Regions from separate parts of the Homo sapiens genome. Here all the other regions are linked to region 1. The links are contacts of gene promoters, found by promoter capture Hi-C in human tissues and cell types (Jung and others, 2019). All regions are on one chromosome and are shown on one strand. Each heading gives the region's core, a stretch centred on a gene start or on the middle of the fragment in contact. The rest is flanking DNA. Distances are from core to core; before and after follow the strand shown. Region 1 holds the start of WNT8A (Wnt family member 8A). Region 2 has its middle 7.4 kb from the start of KLHL3. Region 3 has its middle 45 kb from the start of MYOT. Region 4 holds the start of KDM3B (lysine demethylase 3B).

What was found. Contacts are between HindIII fragments. The study calls those that stand out against the background at their distance.
Region 2: a fragment that was not itself captured here is called in contact with the fragment with the promoter of WNT8A in region 1 in 1 of the 25 tissues and cell types used here (dorsolateral prefrontal cortex).
Region 3: a fragment that was not itself captured here is called in contact with the fragment with the promoter of WNT8A in region 1 in 1 of the 25 tissues and cell types used here (bladder).
Region 4: the fragment with the promoter of KDM3B here is called in contact with the fragment with the promoter of WNT8A in region 1 in 1 of the 25 tissues and cell types used here (adrenal gland).

The regions. Positions count from the first base shown.
Region 1 is chr5:138,082,481-138,086,157 of GRCh38, reverse strand. It overlaps WNT8A (Wnt family member 8A), which reads right to left and starts at 2,125. Exons shown (of 5, transcript NM_001300939.2): 1 at 1,875-2,125; 2 at 1,522-1,660. The coding sequence starts at 2,030. The HindIII fragment of the contact is 19,757 bases long and covers 1-3,677 here.
Region 2 is chr5:137,741,692-137,745,368 of GRCh38, reverse strand. No RefSeq gene overlaps it. Among named protein-coding and RNA genes, the nearest start is that of KLHL3, 7.4 kb to the right of the region's middle. The HindIII fragment of the contact is 5,717 bases long and covers 1-3,677 here.
Region 3 is chr5:137,820,925-137,824,601 of GRCh38, reverse strand. No RefSeq gene overlaps it. Among named protein-coding and RNA genes, the nearest start is that of MYOT, 45 kb to the left of the region's middle. The HindIII fragment of the contact is 7,359 bases long and covers 1-3,677 here.
Region 4 is chr5:138,350,735-138,354,411 of GRCh38, reverse strand. KDM3B (lysine demethylase 3B) reads right to left here and starts at 1,727. Exons shown (of 24, transcript NM_016604.4): 1 at 1,425-1,727. The coding sequence starts at 1,616. RefSeq lists an enhancer at 788-887 and silencers at 1,138-1,607, 1,688-1,927, 1,948-2,027. The HindIII fragment of the contact is 4,490 bases long and covers 1-3,677 here.

The DNA.
Region 1 (3,677 bases), core at 876-3,375:
CTTGCCCTCTTAGAGTCCAGCCTAGACCTCTGTCCACTAGCCACTGCTGCTAGTCTTTAGGCAGTGAGACTCAGGGCTTGATGCTGGCCTAGGAGAGAGAGGAGGACCTTTGCTGCTTCTGACTGGGAAGTTTGGGCCATGTAATAATCATAATCATCCTGACTGCCACCTACTGAACTCTTATCTTACTAAACTCTTTACAAACATTGTCACATTTTATTTCTACATACTCCCTATTCTATCTGTATACCCCATGGGGAGACATTTCTTTTGAACCTCATCTTTTTTTTTTTTTTTTTTTTTTGAGACAAGGTCTTGCTCTGTCACCCAGGCAGGAGTGTAGTGGTGTGATCATAGCTCACTATATCCTTGAACTCCTGGGTTCCAGAAATCCTCCCAACTCAGCCTTCCAGGTCTCTGGGACTACAGGCACATGCTACCATGCCGGCTAATATTTTTACTTTTATTTTTAGTAGAGACGAGGTCTTGCTATGTTGCCCAGGCTGGTCTCGAACTCCTGAACTCAAGCGATCCTCCTGCCTTAGCCTTCCAAAGTGCTGGGATTATAGGCATGGTTCCAACACGTGCTTAGCCACTTTCTCCGTCTTCTTTACTCTCGTTCCCCTAACTATTCTCAGGTGAATGTTATCTTCAAAAATGACATGCAAACTACGGCACACAGTTACAAATGGGTGCACGTGCACACCCATACACACACATAGACACACACCCCACCTGAGGCACAACTCAATGTGACGTCTCAGCTTTTCTGTTGAGATTTTATGGCAGTTAGCCATGTGAAACTTCCTCAGGAGCTGCAAACACACAGCCCTTTCCCCATTTTTATTTCATGCAACTCAGTGCAAGATCAGTGTGTACAAACGCACAAATATAGGCATGCATTTAAAAAATAGAGTAATTTCCGCTGGGCACGGTGGCTTACGCCTGTAATCCCAGCACTTTTGGAGGCTGAGGTGGGTGGATCACCTGAGGTCAGGAGTTTGAGACCAGCCTGGCCAACATGGTGAAACCCCATCTCTACTAAAAATACAAAAAATTAGCCAGGCATGTTGCATGCCTGTAATCCCAGCTACTCGGGAGGCTGAGGCAGGAGAATCACTTGAACTCCGGAGGCGGAAGTTGCGGTAAGCCGAGATTGCGCCATTGCACTCCAGCCTGGGCAACAGAGTGAGACTCCGTCTCAAAAAAAGAAAAAAAAAAAAGAGTAATTTCCTACATTTATCTCATACATAGAGACACCTCATACCCACCTCATTCAACCCATAGGATACTTCTGATGAACTAAACAGAACTGGCCTTACTGACCCAAATGACAAATCTGGGGCTGAGAGAGGGTAGGTAATTTACTCAAGGCCACACAGCAAGGAAATGGCAGGTCAGCAGGTCACTGGCAGCATTTTTATTTCACTGTGCAATACATGTCACACATATACACATACTGCAAGCCCCACTCCATTCACATATATACCCCTTGTACAGGTGAGTCCCACACAAACTTACCACTTCTCAGCCTGTTGTGGGTGGAGAGCTGAAGAGCATTTTCAGGGCAGTTCCAGCGTTCCCAAGCAAACTGGAACTTGCACTCCTCGATGCCACTCTGGGCACCCAAGGCCACACTAGTCGTGTAGGTCAGATAGGCCTGGCAAAGGGAAAAGGGCTGTGAGCTTCTGCCCGGTATGGGTCATCTGTGGTTGGGGGAGCAGGCAGGACTCAGATGGGCCAGCTCTCCATTAAGAATCAACCATGGGTTCCTCTGGGTGAGGGGCTCTGGCACTGTCCCCGCCCCTCTTTTCTCCAGAAGAGTCCCCTTAGGGCCCTCAGTGGGTAAAAACAGAAGCTGGAGATCATCCTACCTTGGGACCTGTTATCAGGAAATTGTTCACTGACCTACCAAAAAGAGAAAAAGTGAGGCAGAGGTGAATGGGGATGAGACAATGGGGGCCTCCTTGGCAAGGAGTGAGGGTTGGGAAAGGACTTACCAGGCAGAGGCACTGAATGCAGCACAGCATATGCCCAGAGCTGCCCAGAGCATAAACAGGTTCCCCATCGCCCTGCCTACCCCAGTGGACCAGGTCCAGCTCAGGGCCAAGTCCAGAGAAGTGAGGAGAGGGCAGGGTCTTCCTCAGTATTTATGTGAGAAAATTCTGAATGTCCAAGGGAGGAAATCAGCAGCTCTTCTCATTTGTTCCTAACTGGCAGGGCTGCAGGAGCCACCGGCCCAGTGGGGGATCTGGGAGGAGGGACTCAGTTTTCGCCAAAAGCCCCGCCCTGCCCAGCCCCTCCAGCCCTTCTTCCCTCCCAGAATGAGAAGGAGGCTGCTTTTCTCCTATACGTGAGATTTCTTTCTTCTATATGTCAATTTTGTCTCTTCCTGCTTCTTTGGCCCATTTCTCAGAATCATGTAGGCCAGAGCAGGCTGGGTCCTTAACCCTGAAGGCAGGTCACCTATTCTTGGAGCTACAGTGTCCTCATCTGTCAGTGAGAGCCCACTCTCTGTCCTGCCATCCTCCCCAAGGTGTTAATAATCATAAAGCAACTCCATCTGGGGCTGCTTCCTACTCATTTACCTAAACCAGTGAGTGCGCCATCCCTACCACTTCCTTCAAGGCTGTGAGGTGATGGAGCTGTGGGACTATGGAGCAGGAACACTTCAGAGTCCATCTCTGCAACAGTCCCTTCCACCACATTCTAGCAACTGCTGGGAAATTTCCTTAATTCCTAGCAAATCTATCCTTTTATATCTGAGGGTTACAACTCCAGTTAGTTGATTTTTTATATATCTGAGAACCAACCTTAGGGCCACCCAGGGTTATATTTGGGAAGACTGATGCCTTTCTCTTTTTTTTTTTTTTTTGAGACAGAGTCTCTCGCTCTGTCGCCCAGGCTGGAGTGCAGTGGTGCAATCTCAGCTCACTACAACCTCTGCCTCCTGGGTTCAAGTGATTCTCCTACCTCAGCCTCCCAAGTATCTGAGACTACAGGTGCCAGCCACCACACCCAGCTAAATTTTGTATTTTTAGTAGAGAAGGGGTTTCGCCAGTTGGCCAGCCTGGTCTTGAACTCCTGGGCTCAAGTGATCTGCCCACCTTGGCCTCCCAAAATGCTGGGATTATAGGCATGAGCCACTGGGCGTGGCCCTGATGCCTTTCTTTCTGATACTACTTTGTTACTAGGACTTCAGCTCCTTAGGTGGGAATCTGTCTTTTATTTTATTTTATTTATTTATTTATTTATTTATTTATTTATTTATTTATTTATTTTGAGATGGAGTCTCACTCTGTCGCCAGGCTGGAGTGCAGTGGCATGATCTCGGCTCACTGCAACCTCCACTTCCTGGGATCGAGCAATTCTCCTGCCTCAGCCTCCGGAGTAGCTGGGATTACAGGTGTGCGCCACCATGCCCAGCTAATTTTTGTATTTTTAGTAGAGACGGGTTTCACCATGTTGGCCGGGATGGTCTCGATCTCTTAATCTCGTGATCCACCTGCCTCGGCCTCCCAAAGTGCTGGGATTACAGGCGTGAGCCACCATACCCAGCCTTATTTTATTTTATTTTTTGAGGCAGAGTTTCACTCTTGTCACCCGGGCTGGAGTGCAAGTGTGCCATCTCAACTTACTGCAACCTCCACCTCTGTGTTCAAGTGATTCTCCTGCCT
Region 2 (3,677 bases), core at 314-2,813, 340 kb after region 1:
TAACAAACTGCTGACCGGAATTTGTCCATCAGGTTATGAAAAATGGCAAATGAGGAGAGTAAAATTATGGATTTATTTATTAAGAACTATTAAAGTATTCATATGCTCTGGGACACCATTACTAGGAATTTAACCTTAACAGAACAGTTTATTGAAAAATTTATTGAAAGGAAAACAGTCTTTGCATAAAAATTATGACGTAGCAAAAAATTGGAAACTAAATGTCAAATATTAGGGAAATGTTAACTGTGGTCTGTCAAAAGGTGAAATATTAACTCAGTGTTATCAGGTGAATGAATTAACAAGATGTGGTATATACATACAATGGAATATTCAGCCATAAGAAAGAATAAATTTCTGGTATATGCTACAAGATGAATGAAAACATGCCAAGTGAAATAAGCCTGCACAAAAGGACATACTATGATTGCACTTAAATGAGGTACCCAGAGTAGGCAAATTCAGAGAGATAGAAATGGGAAATTACTGTTTAAGGGATACAGAATTTCTTTTCAGATGTTGAGAAAGTTCTGAAAATGGATAGTGGTGATTGTTATACAACATTATGAATGTACTTAATGCTGATGAATCGTATATTTAAAAATGGTTAAAATGGCTTTTTTTCTTTTTTTTGGAGGCCGGGTCTTACTCTGGTGCCCAGGCTGGAGTGCAGTGGCATGATCATAGCTCACTGGAGCTTCGAACTGTGGGCTCAAGTGATCCTCCCACCTCAGCCTCCCCCGTAGCTAGAACTGACTACAGGCACGCGCCACCACAGCTAGCTAATTTAAAAAATCTTTTTGTAGAGATGGAGTCTTGCTATATTGCCCAGGCTAGTATTGAACTCCTGGGCTCAAGTGATCCTCCCACCTCAGCCTACCAAAATCCTGGGATTACAAGTGTGAGCCACCACACCTGGCCTAAAATGGCAAATTTAATGTATATTTTACCACAATAGAAATTGTAATGAAAAAATATATTATTTAACATAATAAATATGTAAGTATATTAAAGTAGTGGGATGAAAAAATTGTATCTTTTAAATATTTTTTTAAAGACAAGGGCTTGCCCTGTTGCCCAGGCTGTAGCACAGTGGTGGTGCAATCATGGCTCACTGCAGCCTCAAACTCCTGGGCTCAGGTGATCCCTCTGCCCATGCCTTCCAAGTAGCTAGGACTACAGGTGCACACCACTATGCCTGGTTAAGTTTTAAAATTTTTTTTGTAGAGATGAGGTCTTACCATGTTCCCCAGGCTGGTCTCAAAACTACTGTGCTCAAGCGGTCCTCTCTCCTTGTCCTCCCAAAGTGCTGGGATTACAGGTGTGAGCCACCATGCCCGGCCAAAAAAATTTTTTAAATGAAATCATGGGACGTTGAAATTACCTATTTGCAAATATTTACAATTATGAATACCTTTTAAAAACTCCATAGAATTATTAAGTTCTCAATTTATTTCTATTCTCATGTCATCCACCCTCTCCCCAACTGGAAGTTGCCTCTTCTCCCACCAAGTTTCCATGATACCCTTTCTGTACTTGACTCTCATACTTTTTACCATTGTATATGCCTATGTCTAATTTTCTCAAACAGCTTGTGTGCTCTTTGGAATTATATTAATATAGGATTTATGTTGTCAGTCTCTGGTACAGCCTGCATAGTAGATATTCAGTGAGACTTAGTTGACTGAATCATAAGCATGCTATTTTACGAAGGTAGAGATTTACCAAAATGTTTGAGCATACGTGCCCATGGGTTTTATATCACTTCAAGTGTGTGCCTGCCTCAATTCTCTGTACTTGCTAGATGTGCAGACCTGATCTCACCCACATACACATCACTGTATTCTTGACTTTAGGGCTTTGCATCATTCATTTATATTTTACCTTTTTATGTAAAACAGCCCAATTTTCTTTGGATCCCGAAAGGAAAGAACTGCAGGCGTGAGGCAGGGGCAGCAGATAGAGGAGAGGATCATTGCAGTCAATTTAAAGTTGCATATGCCTATTGGAAAGTTGTAAGTAAGAAATAATGTTCATTCCTGAATAGAATGTCTGTGAAGGAAGCATATATTTTTTTCCTTCTTAAGCCCCAGTTGTAGTAATTAGGTTTTACTTTTGTTATGAAGAGATGTATACTTTTGCCAGCAGAGGGCACCAGTTGTAGGTTGCAGATTCATGGGAAGACTCAGAGACCAGTGTGCTGGTCTGTGTGAAGCACTCTGCTTGTTGCTTTAGTTGGTCTGCCCCCCACCCACCCGCCTTTTTTTTTTTTTTTTTTTTAATTCCCTTGGGTTCCAGTGGTACTCTTCCAGCTTTCCCCAAGAGCATTCTTTGGCTAGTCCTGGTTAATAAGCTAGGTGCCCAGATGAATCCAGGTGGAAGGACTTTATTATAGTAGCTGTTTGGAAGCCTTGGATGCCAGCTTGTATGTAATATCTTTAGGGGTTCAAAGCTGTTTTTCCTCATCCAGAGGTAAGGTGAAAAAGGCATTAGGCCAGGCATCTGAGGGTCTGGTTCTGCACTGAGGTTGGCTCTCTAAGTAGTTTTGAGCCAGTTACCTTTTCTCTCTGTCTCAATTAGCTTATCTCTAAAATGGAGACAGTAAGATAGGGGTAGTACATTCTGTGTATAGCTAATAGTGGTCTCTTAGGTCAGGCAGACCTGGGTTCAAATTCCAGCTTTGCCATTTACTAACTGTGGGGCCTTGGTTCAAGTTATTTAACTCTCAGAACCTCGATTCTCTCATGTTTAAAAGAGAAATAATAGTCCTACAGGGTTGTGAGAATTAAATGACAAGGGTACATGTGAAGTGTGGAATACAGGGTCTGGCCCAGAGTAAATATTCAAGGAATGGGAGCTATTATTACCATTCAGGGGATGTTGTCTTAAGTCAAAGGAGATGATGGATATGAAGCACTTTGTAAGCTTAAAAATGCAACACAAATGGCATGAGTGATTATACTCTGGAATCTACTTGGCGTGAATTCTTTTACCTTCAGAGGAAGAGTCCTTATTCCTCTGGATAAGGTGCTGTTTTGTTTCTCTTTTGACTTTTTGGGGTCTCAAGTTCCTTTTCAGTTTCTGCCTGGCTGTCTGAGGGCACTTGGCAAGTGCTCCTGAATATGAGAGGGCATTTTGGTGATACAGGTGTGGGTGGACCTTAATTTAGCTTTGGTCTTGTCTACTCCTTGCTGACCTGTTGGTAATAGTAACCAGTGGAGATGTGAAAATAGCTCCAGGAGAGGCCCTACCCTGGTTAATTTTCTTCTTGAACCTAGGACCGAGTGCTCAGGTTCGGTAGCATTGGCACAGACAATGAAAATCATAGCTACTAATGGTTGCTGAGTGCTTATTATAGGCCAGGCTCTCAGCTAAGTGCTTTACATTCTAACCTAACAATGCTGTGAAGTAGGTACTATTGTTCTCACCTTTTTTCGAATGAGAAAAATCGAAGCTTGTAACTTGCCTAGGGTCATGTTTCTGGTAAGTACATTTGGACCTTGCCCTGTCTGATTTTAATGGTCTGGGCTCTTTTCATTGTTCAGGTGATGTTTGCATCTAGCTGTGCATTAGAGTCACCTACGAAGTTCATTAAAATTCCCGTTCCTAGTGGGTGCGATAGCTCACACCTGTCCATCCCAGCGTTTTGGGAGGCTGAGGCGGGAGCACTGCTTGAG
Region 3 (3,677 bases), core at 508-3,007, 260 kb after region 1:
AATTATTTCTTTTTTGAAAAATTGTATAAACCAGGCATGGTGACGTGTGCCTGTAGTTCCACCCACTCAGGAGGTAGAGGTGGGAGGATCACTTGAGCCCAGGAGTTCGAGGCTGCAGTGAGCTATTATTGTGCCACTGCACTCCAGCCTGGGTGAACAGAGTGAGACTATGTCTCTTAAAAAAGATAATAAAAGAAAAAAAAATAAAATTTATATATATTTAAATTATACAACTTGATTTGATATACATATTGTGAAATAATCACCACAATCAAGGTAATTAACATATCCATCATAGTTACCTTTTGTGTGTGTGTGAGAATACCTTTTGTGTGAGAATACTTAGGATCAACAACAAATTTTAAGTATATAGTGTAACATTGTTACTGATAGTCACCATGCCATACATTAACTCTCCAGAACTTATTCATCTTGCATAACTGAAAGTTTCTGCCTTTTGACCAACATCTTTTCATATCCTCCTTCCTTCAGCCCATGGTGAATTCTATGAATTTAACTATATTAGATTCCACATATAAGTGACATCATAGAGTATTTATCTTTCTATGTTTGGCCTATTTCACTTAGCATAATGTTCTCCAGGTTCATTCATATTGTCACAAATGGCAGGATTTTATTCTTTTTAAAGGCTGAATAATATTCCATTGTACATGTATACCACATTTTCTTTATGCATTCATCTGTCAATGGACATGTAAGTCGTTTCCGTATCTTGGTCCTTGTGAATAATGCTGCAGTGAACACAGGAATGCAGGTATCTCTTCAAGATCCTGATTCCGCAAAGGAATTATTTCTTATTCGTCATCTTTATCCCGTACAATACTCCACTCATTTAGTGAATGCTCTACTCACAAGGAAGGAAGGAAGGAGGGAGGGAGGGAGAGAGGGAAGGAGACCTGTGGTTGTAGAAAGTTTAGGCACCTGGGCTTTGCATTTCTTTTATTTATTTATTTTTGAGACAGGGTCTCACTGTTGCCCAGGCCGAGTGCAATGGTGAGATCACAGCTCACTGCATCCTTGACCTACTGGGCTCAAGTGATCCTCCCCACTCTCAGCCTCCCCTGTAGCTGGAACTACAGATGTATGCCACCACACCTGGCTAATTTTCTCTATTTTGTAGAAACGGAATCTCACTCTGTGGCCCAGGCTGGTCTTGAACTCTTGACTCAAGCAATCCTTCCACCTCGGCCTCCCAAAGTGCTAGGATTACAGGTGTGAGCCACTGTGCCCAGCTGCAATTCTTTAAGAAGTTGTGGTTGCCTTGGAGAAATTGGAAACTCTCAGATTCTTAGGCCATCCCTATATGCTAGTTGGTAAGTCATAACTCCAGCATTGCCTCCTGGGTTTCAGTGTGCATGACATCAATATGGGACAAGCCAACTGAGCTTTCTGCCAAAACTTACAGGAAAATCTGGGCTGAGCCACAAATATTATGAGCTCTAACCCAGGGACATAGCAGCTCTCCCTGCAGTTTTTGCTGATTTCTAGATGTTGTGGCTCCCTTGCCTGGGATCCGTTTGGTGTTTAGCACTTAGCCATAAATCAGTCTTGTGTCCTATGGGTAGGCTGGGGCTGGAAAGTAGAGGGAGGGAGAGCAGCTGGAGATACCTAGAGATGTTAACTGAGAATGTGCAAACCAAGAAGGAAGACGGGAACCCAGGCTATCTGCATACCTTTTTCTGTGGATAGGTTGACTGCGTAGACCTTTTTCCAAGCAGCCTGGTTGTGGCCTGTGGCCAGTCAGTTGTGTCTGCAGAAGAAATTGAGCCTTTTCTCTTCTTAAGCCTCCTTCCCTCAAATTCCTAGACCTGGAGCATACCTAAACCTCAGTTTTACCCTTTTCCCTATACAGCAGATAATGAATCACCTGATTTAGAATCAAGGGATGTGGGTTCAGGTACGGTCAGCTACTCACTGTTTGACCTTAGGCAAGTCACATAGTCTCTCTGAGCTTTGGCTTTTTCAACAGAGTTGGAGTTATGCCTCCAGCCAGTCCTGACACCCTGCCCCCTCTGCTCCCTCCGCCCCCCGCCCCCGCCTTCCCCTTCCCCATCCTATAGTTGTTGGAAGAGTGAAATGAGATAATAGGGTTGAAAGTGTTTTGTGAATGGTCAAGCTCTGTGCAGTTAATTGTAAGGGAGGAGGAGGAGGATGTGGTTTCCTGAGGGGCATTTGGGTTGTATGACCCTATTGAGTAAGCCCTTCTTTTTGTGCTGCCTAAAGTGCCACGAGGTGGCAGCAGGATCCTATCTTCCCTCGTCTTTAGTGGAGGATAAAGCCAGGAGAAGATAGGAAAGGCCTTTGGATGCTGCTTTGCTCTATCCTACAAAGGTGAAGAGGATTTATTTCTTTACCATTGTCTACATTTCTCACTCCACCAAATCCCCCTGGTTAATATTAAATAATTCCTCAAAGGACCCCCCCCCCCACTTTTTTTTTTTGAGACGGAGTCTCACTCTGTCGCCCAGGCTGGAGTCCAGTGGCGCGATCTCGGCTCACTGTAAACTCCGCCTCCCGGGTTCACGCCATTCTCCTGCCTCAGCCTCCCGAGTAGCTGGGACTACAGGCGCCCGCCACCACACCCGGCTAATTTTTTGTATTTTTAGTAGAGATGGGGTTTCACCATGTTAGCCAGGATGGTCTCGATCTCCTGACCTTGTGATCTGCCTGCCTCGGCCTCCCCAAGTGCTGGGATTACAGGCGTGAGCCACCGCGCCCTACCAGGAGCCCCATTTTTAAACTAGAATCTCAGGACACTTTCTCCACTTTTGAAGAGGCACAAAGAAGGGAGATAATTTGTCCAATATTAAATAATTAGTTCATTCGAGAAATAAGACTTCAGTTTAGGTTTCTTCCTATGAGTGCAGTCCTTTTGAAAATGTGAGTATTTTCAAGATGTTTTGGGAGGCTTGAAGCGGCTTTGTTTCTTTCAGTGGAGGGGATTTTGAGGGCCTTCTGAGACAGAGGGAAATAGGAAACCTGTCTGTAGCATTCATTTGAAAATCTTTTGAAGTGTTGCCTTGATTAAGAAACTGATTAGGGCACCTTATTAGGAACCACCAAGTATCTGAAAGGCAAGCCTTAGAAACTCTCAGATATGTATGCTAGATGGAGTGCGACAGACACCTCGGGAGAGAGGATCCTTGGTGCATTGTTTTAAGGGATGCATTTCAGAATATGGAGTTTTGCATCAGACTTGCCTTCCTGTTTATATTCTCCTCAGAGGCAAATGTTCAAACGAGACTATTCTCAGTACACTCTGGCTTATGGCAAAGGAAGGTGAGAATGAGGGAAGCCAACCTTAACCATTTGCTATTGATAATCCACATAAGGTGGCAGAGTAACAGAAATAAAAGCATATGGACTTGAGAGTCCAACAGATGCTGGTTCAAAGCCTGCCCCAGTTACTTGCTTTTACAGGCAATTTTCATAGGTTCCAGTTTTCTTATAAAATGGGAGTAATAAGACCTACCTTGTTAGCTATGTAACCTTTGACAAGCTATTTAGCCTCTGTGTAACTCAATTATGTCTGTATAATGAAGGTAATAATTAAATGGAAAGTCCTACTTCATAGGATTTTATAATGATTAATAGGTTGTTTCCTAGAACTATGCATGACATATAATAAGCACTTGGTAAACATTTGCTGTTGTTTT
Region 4 (3,677 bases), core at 478-2,977, 270 kb before region 1:
TCTGAAATGGACACTTCTTTTCCCATCCCAGCCATCTTTTAAAGAAAGCGCAGAGGAATAGAGATCCAAATCCCAGTCTTAATCATCATTCCATCCCCTTAAATTTTTAGTATCTTTTTGCAAATTTGCCCCACTGAGGCCTTATAAATGTCCTAGTAACGTTTCTTATACAGCATGAAGAAAAATCAAAGCAAATGAACCCAAGTAGCAGAAGCAAAGCCTAAGCCATCCACAAAAAAAATCCATAAAGCTTGTATATTAGTGAAAAAGGACAGTCTAACACCGTTGATCAATAGGAAGAAAAATGAACATCGGAAGCCTACAACATTACTTCCAAATCTCACAAACTGCGTTCCCGTTTATATCTGCAAAAGCAAGTTCATCAAGAAAATTTACTTTCTGCTTGCTGATCTATTACATTCCAAAAGACCACCCCCTGCCCCAACACGCACACACACCATTTTTCATAGCCTTATCTCACCAGAGAAGCTAGGGCCCCTATCAAAATGAGGAAATAAAGTGGCTTGCCAAAACTCAAACACTATATTTTACCGCCACATTAACGAGAATAACACATCATGATCCCGAATGCTAGTTAAGTTGTATGACTGAACAACTTTAATCACAAAACACACCAAGGCATTCAAAAAGGGCCAAGCCCAAACACAAAGTTTCAAAACAAAACCTCTCCCAAGGTTGGGGGAGTAGCTGAGCTGGGAGCAAAAAGCACTACCCAGCAGCCCCGTTCGGCCACTAAGAAAGATCTCAAACTTAACAAAAACAGCCACAACTGCAGCTCCTGTCACCCAGAAGCGTTAAGGAAAGGAGAGGAGAGCTCGAGACAGTGCCGAGAGCTGGCCTTTCTGGAGACCGCCAGGCCGAGCCCAGCTCAGATGAGGAAGTAACTGCCAGATAAAAAAGCCCCGACCAGCTCCAACTGCAGCCTCCGTGCCTCCCATAACTGCCCACATTCCCGCCCCACTTGGGGCTCTGGGAGAAAAGGAACAGGGCGCAGGTCTCCTGGGAGAGGCTGGGGACCACAGGTCCGCGTCTTCGAGAGGGCAGCGGCAACACTGGCCGAACTCTGAGGCTCCCGGGAGCTCAAGATTCGAGAGCCTGCTCCGAAGGCGTGTTGGGGGGAACGCCGAGAAAAGGGTCGCCCAGGAGGCGGGGCCTGCTGGCTGCAAGCAGCAGCTCCGGACGCCCTGGCCGCCCCCCGGGGGAAACCGGGGCGCACACCCCGACGCGGAAGCCATGCCGGCAAGCGCTCGGGGTGCGGAGGTGCCGGCGGGGGGCGCTAAGGAGACCCGGGGGCACGGAAATGGGTCACCCCCATCCCACCGCCCCCTCACAAAGGCCCCCGGGGAGGCCGCCCGCAGGCCCCGCAGCCCCGGCCTCGAGTGCCCGACTCGGCCGCCACTCACCGCTAGGTCCTGGGGCACCGCCCCGCTCATGGCCCGCACCGTGCCGGCCCGCCAGGCTCGAGTGCGCAGCGCAGGCCCCGGATCTCCGCTCGCCGCTGCCGCCGCGGGAGCCGAGGCCGAGGCTGAGGCCGCAGTGTCCGCGAACAGCAGCAGCAGCCGCTTGCCCACCGGGGAGGCCGCCGCGTCCGCCATCGCCGGGGCCGGCCTGACCCGCGCTCCCGCCCGCCGCCTCCCACCACCTCCGCCGCCAAGCGCCCGATCCGCCCGCAAGGCCTCCCTCCGCACCACCCGCGGCCGCCGTTCCCCCCCACCCCCCCCAACAGCCACCACCAACCACCGGCGCAGCGCAGCGCCCCCCGTGGCCGGGAGCGGAGCCGCAGCCTGGGCCCCGCACAGCGCCCCCCGCGCTCTGGAGCGGGGCGACAGCTCCTGGCCCCTCGCAGCGCTCCGCCCCAATCTCCCCGGGGCCTGCAGTGCCCCCTGCGGTCTGGAGGGGAATTGCAGGTCCGGCCGGGGTAGGGAAGTGGGCGGGTCCTTCAGCTTCCCCATGGCATCATCCCTGGTCTCAATCTTCCTTCAGGGAGTCGTATATATGAGAGGGCTTTAGCTTGCTCTCCTCGGATACCAAAGACATTTACGGGGTAAGGGGGTGAGGGGCAAGGTACCTAGAGAGTGGATGTTTTGAGCTATTTAGTGTCTCCAATACCCCCATTGATTTCCTATCCTGAAAATATGAGCTCCTACCTGCTGTCTTGTAGGAAATGTTCTCCCCATTGGTCCATGAGACACAATGTCTTCCTTCTCAATGGCCCATAACAGCACCATCCCATTCTATACTGCCAGCACTTCTTAGGTTCCTTTCCAATTGGCCAATGTATTACTTCCATTGGATGTATAATGCCACTCTTTCCACTGACTGAAGGCCAACGTGCCCCCCAACATCTTGGTGTTTTTCCTAAAACCGACCTAACTTCTTCCCCTTCCTAGTCTGCCAATGTTATTAAGTCTACGTGTTTCTCCATTCAACTCTTAGGGGAACTGGAAATAGACCAACAGTAAAGGGGTTCTCTTAGTAGCACTCCATCTTACCATGGAATTAGTGGGGCTGGGGGCAAAGAAAATTCTGTAACTCTTATCTGAATGCATTTAATACAGGTGTGGGAGACTGATAGCTCCTGATTAGAAAAGGAGCCTGCAGAGAAAGTGAGATGCTGAGATTTTTGGCTAGATTGTTACCCACAATAAGCAACAGGAAATTGCCTCAATCATTTAAAGCTGGCAATATCAGGGACTAGCACATTCCATGGTCTCATGGATGCAGAGACTGAGTATACACAAAATGGATACAAAAGATAAAGGGTATAGTAATAACCCATGACTGTTGTTCTAAAAGTGACTTTTTGATTTTCCCTACAGACAGGAAATAGTGGTAGCTGGTTCTTTCTCCAAGGCTTCTGTGCCTACCCCAGCTATCTCCTGTCCATAACCTTGTCTACACCCTTGACCTACTTTTCTTGTAACAAAGGCTTGGGGAGAGGGGTAACCAACTATTGACTTTATACTTTTACTAAAGTATAAAACATATAGGAAAATCATTCTAGAACCAACCCTGTGGAGCACCAAGGAAACATTCCTCCCTCCACTTCTTTTTAACTTCCATCTCCCACAGCCAACCTGAGGCCTGACTCAGAATGTTTTTCTGGGCTGAGAGCCACCTCTTAAAGCACATGGCCCATAAGCTGTAGTTGGTAGGAGGGGAACAAGGGTGAATCCATACAAGATCTATCTGCCTTGCAATTTTTCTATCAAAATTATCTGCTGGGATTTTCTCCCATACAGAGATTTAACTACTGCCCCAATGTCCAAGGCTAGTTTCTCACAGCAGAGAGACAGAAATGTACCTAAGTTCACGGATGGGAAAGGCAAAAGGGAAATGCATTCAACAAATGTGACCAGCACTTTTCATGTGCCAGGAACTTCCCAAAGTGTTGGGGACACAATATTGAATAAAACAAAACTCTTGCCCTCATGGAGTTTACGTTCTTTCCTATATTAACAAGACTTCAGGAATGAAAAATAAAATCACACTTGGCCTCACAGAAAATAGCAGAAAAATCCAACAAAAATAAACTCAAAAGAAAAAAAGGGGGAAACAAAGTCATTTTAGATGTTCAAACTTTACCCCTGCTCAAGCAGTAGGTGAAATGAAACATCAGTTTTAAAGAAAAAAAACCCTGTAATTCTAAGCTTCTT